Regions from separate parts of the Homo sapiens genome. Here region 1 is linked to region 2. Evidence: promoter capture Hi-C in 16 types of primary human blood cells and fetal thymus (Javierre and others, 2016). All regions are on one chromosome and are shown on one strand. The core of a region is centred on a gene start or on the middle of the fragment in contact, and the rest is flanking DNA. Distances in the headings are between cores, read along the strand shown.

Region 1 (2,914 bases), core at 290-2,789, 270 kb after region 2:
AGCTGACAGGGCCTAAAAGTCATTGTTGGGAAGCTGGGCCTGGGCAACCCCATCTCTTCTTGAAAGAAAAACGTCCTATAGTCATTCCTATCTATCACAAGCGAGTAAGGAGCCTCTCCCTCTCAGTGTCCTCAGACAGGGGATGAGAGTAAAATAAAAGAAATCCTGTTGTGAAAAATACTGTAACTAGAGGTACACTGTGGAAAATCATAGTTCTGACATTAGTATTAAATTATCACACAAAAAGACCAACTATCCCAAAGACAGGCATTTAAAAAATTGAAGTCTAGAGAGTTGCCCTCCTGTGTGTACCTGTTTATGTCTTATTACTGGGACTGCAATGATGTGGCTTTGAAGAACTTTGCCAAGCATTTTTTCATCAATCTCATGAGGAGAGGCAACAAGCTGAGAAACCGATGAAGCAGAAGAACCAACAAGGTGGCAGAATCTTGCTTCGGGGTACTAAGATGCCAGATTGTGACATCTGGGAGAGTGTGCTGAACGCAATAGAGTGTGTGTGACCCTTGGAAAAAAGTGTGAATCTGACTTTACTGGAACTGTGCAAACTGGCCACTGACAAAAACGATCCCCACTTGTGTGACTTCAGGGAGATGCGCTACCGGAATGATCAAGTGAAATCCATCAAAGAATTGGGTGACCATGTAACCAACTTATGCAAGATGGGGGCCCCCAAATCTGGTATCTTTTGGCCAAGCACACTCTGGGAGACAGTGATGACAAGAGCTAAGCCTTAGGCTGGCTGTCCCATAACCACAGGGTGACTTCCCCAGTCACCAAAGCAGTGCCTACAGGTAGGGGTTAATTTTACCCATTGAATAAATTGTAGAAAAACTTCCACTTGAATTCTTTCGTTTGTATTAGTCCTTAACATAAAATAATTCGGTACCCCCAAAGAACAAAATAAAACTGTGAGTGCTACCTGCCATCAAAGAAGAAGAACTTCCCCCGTCCGTTCTTTTCTCCGTGAACAAAGTTCCCCTCAAATCTGTCTGTGGAGGAGTAGGTGACTGTGCAGAACCCGTGCGGTAATCCGTCATCGTCCAGGTGCCCTGGAGAAAGGGAACCACAAGGCAAACCTTAACATCTTCAGTGCTCCTCCCATCTGACGTCTAAGCATTCAGATGCTGCCAGACAAGTCCCCCACCCAACTCCCCTCCAGCTGCCAAAGGGTCCCCTCCCTGGAAAGAAAGGGTAGTCAGCGTGCAAAAGTTTCTCACCTCATCGGCACCAGCAGTACCAAATTGATTGTTATGTACACTTTGTGAACTGATAGGTCCAGAACAGACTTAGACACATTCCAGAATATGAACTTTAAATAAGCTTGCTTTTTACCTGGAACTGAGAGTCATTATCAGTAATATTATCTGCAGGGCATGTCACAATTTACCAAGTACTCTCCCGAGAGTCCTCATATTTGGAATTGATGCCTCCAATCTCTCATGCTTAACTGAAGTGTGGTTGAGATTCCACTGTTTTATAGTCAATTGCCACATACACAGTCTTTGGAATAAATTATCTAATTCTAGAACATTAAGTATGCAATATGATTTTATACATCATTCTATAATATGATGTGGAGGACTGCTAGCCAGTCTGAAAATCTCACTGTTATTGTTATATTCACACAAGGAACAGTGTCATATCTTTAAAACTGCCCTAAGATTTATATAGCTCATTGTACAAACACAGAAACCCAGAGTCCTTCTCACCTTAAACTTAAGCTTAACCTTAAACCTACTGGTTTACTTTACAAAATCTTTCAGCTTTGAATGTTTAGTAATAACCTTATCCTATACCGTCCACCACTGTGTCTCAGAGGGCTTGTGTTTTAAATGGAGCCAGAGTATGCACATGGTCATTTAAGCAATGATTGTGAACATCAGCAGAAGTTATTACATGGACTTTTAAGTCACTGGTTATTCCTAGGTCAAAGATTGGTATAGTTTAATACTGACATTTACAGTCAATGTTTATGCTTTTTATTACTATCTACATGTTTTACAAAACCCAGGAATCACCTTATTGGTGTCTTCCCAATCATTCTGGTGAGCTGATTTTGCAGAGGTGGGTGAAAATGAAGGCAGTAGTTATTCTACTGGCTTTTTCTTGGGGTAATAACCTGGGTCATGGAGAGAAAAGGTATGAAAACATTAAACACTGTGTCTAATGCAGGGACATTAAACATTGAAATGTAGCTTCCAGATGGCTCACAGACATAAAAGGCAACACAAACCATACTACCACAGTGAAAGCTTTAGTCTCCTCAAATAATTTATTCTAACATGATAAAAGAATATTAGCCCTTGGAAAAGATGGTAAGTACACACTCTTATAAAGAATAAATATGCGGCCGGGCATGGTGGCTCACGCCTATAATCCCAGCACTTTGGGAGGCTGAGGTGGGTGGATCACCCTAGGTCCAGAGTTTGAGACCAGCCTGGCCAACACAGTGAAACCCCGTCTTTACTAAAAATACAAAAAATTAGCCAGGCATGGTGGCGGACGTCTGTAATCCCAGCTACTCAGGAGGCTGAGGCAGGAGAATCGCTTGAACCCAGGAAGCAGAGGTTGCAGTGAGCCAAAATTGTGCCACTGCACTCCAGCGTGGGCAACAAGAATGAAACTCCATCTCAACAACAACAATAAAAAGAATAAATATGCTCTTTATTTGTATCATTAATTACATAAACATAAAATAGCTGCAAACAACTACAGTGTTTTATTGCTACATCTGACTCTGTATACAATGGGTTACCTAGAACATCTTACAATAAGACACATCTACTTAAATAAATCATAATCAATATGGATCCCTTCCTCTTAACACAAAAGAGGAAAGGCCCAGGAAATTAATGGTCAGAAGGGAACTAGGCCATAATTGCTTTCTTCTCGC
Region 2 (2,926 bases), core at 246-2,745:
ATAAATGGCTTCTCCCTACTTCATCAGTGTATATATATATTTAAAAGCTCTATATCATTTGGTATAAAGATCTAGAAAAATAAAGGCAATAAAGATCTAGGAAAACGAAGATGTCTTATTTCTGATACTTGAGGGATAACTTCCTTCCACCAGCATTTTACAAGAAAAATAAAGCGAGTTAGTTAGACCTCCGTCCTTCCCTCCCACCACCACCAACAGAGGCCTAATCAACGTGAAAAAAAAATCGGCCCATGGAATTCTCCGCGCACATCTTTCTCTCCTGCTGGAATCCACCCTCTGGGGTAAAATTATCTCGGAAGGCTCAGAAAGTGAGGCTAAGTGAAGAGAGCATTAAGAACCCTTCACGATATTGTCTAAGAGCCGTCCCCCAGTCGTGAGTGGAAGAGAGAGGGGTGACGGATGGGGACTAGGGAAAAGCGGCTGGGGCAGAACCGCCCTGGAGCGCAAGCCTGGTCCCAGAAGAAAAACAATCTTCCTTGCTCACACCTATTAAGCACCTACTATGTTCCCAGCACTATACGAAGCGCTTTCCTATATGTCCGTTTTTATTTAATAAGCCTCCAGTTCACACTGCAACTCCCCCTTTAGTTAATTGCTGAGTATTCTGCTTTTTCTCGCGTATCCTCAGAACCAAAGGTGTCGATATTTGGACTACAGAGCCAAGCAGTTGCAGGACGACGTGCAACCTCAAAGGAAAGTGTCCCGAAGGCCGCTTCCTTTTTGGGGGTTGTGGATCTCAGAGCCAGGCGCTCGCGGGGTTCAGGCTGCTGAGACCCTGCCAAGGGTTAGGTTTATTTACCCCACGAACATTCGCCCAGCGTCCACTGAGCGGGCCCTGCCTCACTGCCTCCCAGCGCTTGCCGGGCCCGCTCGCTGATCGGCGTCCACCTTCCCACCGTTCCTCTGCTTCCTCAGGAGATTGGAGAGCGAATGGTGCCTCTAACAATAAAAGTGGTAAGCTGCGACTTTGTCAGCCAGGCACGTTTTTAAGTGCTTTTAACCATACATTAACTCATTAAAAAGGAAAACCATCATCGCCCTCATTTTATAGATGAGGAAACAGGTTAAGCCATTTGTCCAAGATCAGGATGCGAACCCAGATAATCTGGACTCTGAGGCACCCTGGAAAAGTTCCCTACTTCCAAAGTCTGCAGGAGCTTCGGGACGTCTTCCCGGGAGTCTCCCCCAGTCTCCTCGACCTCCAATCCAGGCTTCTGCTGCTCTGGGTCGGGTTTGGCCAACTGGGTGCCGGCCGGTTCCCTGGCGCGGGCGAAATCTGCACCCGAGGCGCCCGTCCTCCTCTCCGGGCTAGACCTCCTTACTCACCGTCCTTTCCGAGCGGCGCGGGGTTGGGGGGCGCCCTCAGCGGCAGCGCCAGAGTCTTGGAGACCGCCCTGCGGAGATACATCGCGCCCGCTGTCCGCCGCGCAGCAGCCTCGGTACCCAGGCGCAGGCTGCCCTTCCACAGAGAGGCTGAGAGCCTGGCAGCGCCCCGCCCGGAGGAGGCACGTCGACCTTCATCCAGCCCCGCCTCCGCGGCCCCCGGGAGGTGGGGAGACCTTTGTAGTCCTCACCATCCTCCCCTAACCCATCTCCAGCTCTGTTGCTATCCCTGAGGTCTCTAGAGCTGACCGCGGCATCTCAGAAAAGGGATGGGGAACCTACAAGTCGCCGTCGCCTGCCTGGCTCATTCTGTACCACTGAATGTAACTCCTCACAGCAAGCTGGAAATGTTTTGGGAATTGGACGAGATTAAGACAAGGACACAGTTTATCACGCTGGATGTAATCTGAAACCATTTTATCTCCTGCATTCCGTTAGCTTTCCTAGGAGAGGGAAGGATAGCTGGAAGTTTCTTAAAAATGAGAAGAGCGAAGGGGTAGCCTCAGCCTTCCATTAGCGCACTGGGTGATGCTCAGAATCGTAAGAAAATCTGCAGACAATGGTTGAATTTCTAGACAGCTCACTGTTAAAACGACTTTAAAATATCAAAAACACTGTATATTCCTCTATGGGATGTGAAATTAATATTTCCACATCAGCGGCCGGGCACAGTGGCTCACGTTTATAATCCCAGCACTTTGGGAGGCCGAGGCAGGCGGATCACTTGAGGTCAGGAGTTGGAGAGCAGCCTGGGCAACATGGTGAAACCCCGTTTCTACTAAAAATACAAAAAATTAGCCGGGAGTGGTGGCGCGGGCCTGTAATCCCAGCTACTCGGGACGCTAAGGCAGGAGAATCGCTTGAACCCGGGAGGCGGAGGTCGCAGTGAGCCGAGATCATGCCACTACATTCAAGCCTGGGTGACAGAGCAAGACCCTGTCTCAAAAGCAAAACAAAACAAAACAAAAACCCCAAAAACAAAACAAAACAAACAAAACAAAAAAACACATCAACTAAAAATACTAAATTATTAGTTTTCCGTCTCATCGTGGCTACAAGAACTTGTCATGGTTTGAATATGGAAACCAATAATTTATTACGTTTATAACATTGTCTAAATGATTACTCTTTGGAAGACACCATTTCCTACTATAATAATCCCTTATGTGTGTTTGGCACTTGAAAGATTATAAAGCACTTTCACATCTATTATCTCTTTTAATTTTCACTGCAACCCTCTGAGGGAGGTGGCAATTATTCCCTTTAGCAAATGCCACCACCAGGTGGTGGGTGGGAATGTCCAGGGATTTACTGGTGGTCATGAATTAAAAAACAAAAAGGACATGAACATAATACTTCTAGCTTAAAGTTCTATTGGCATGTAACAGGCACAATATTTGTTCATTTGCTATGTAAATAGACGTTTCTCAGAAGTTATAGTCCTGAACCTAATTATAATTATATTTAACATATTCTCATAAGAAGAGTACAAGCCAATGATCAGATTGGTTTTTTGATACTC

What was found. The method cuts DNA at HindIII sites, captures the fragments that hold promoters and counts their contacts. A CHiCAGO score of 5 or more calls a contact.
Region 1: a fragment that was not itself captured here is called in contact with the fragment with the promoter of MGARP in region 2 in 2 of 17 cell types (activated CD4 T cells and total CD8 T cells); the score reaches 6.2 in activated CD4 T cells.

The regions. Positions count from the first base shown.
Region 1 is chr4:139,545,980-139,548,893 of GRCh38, forward strand. It overlaps SETD7 (SET domain containing 7, histone lysine methyltransferase), which reads right to left. Exons shown (of 8, transcript NM_030648.4): 2 at 941-1,070. It also overlaps the pseudogene FTH1P24. Among named protein-coding and RNA genes, the nearest start is that of SETD7, 8.8 kb to the right of the region's middle. RefSeq lists a silencer at 2,286-2,472. The HindIII fragment of the contact is 401 bases long and covers 1,340-1,740 here.
Region 2 is chr4:139,278,730-139,281,655 of GRCh38, forward strand. It overlaps MGARP (mitochondria localized glutamic acid rich protein), which reads right to left and starts at 1,496. Exons shown (of 4, transcript NM_032623.4): 1 at 1,348-1,496. The coding sequence starts at 1,429. RefSeq lists an enhancer at 1,251-1,460. The HindIII fragment of the contact is 26,288 bases long and covers 1-2,926 here.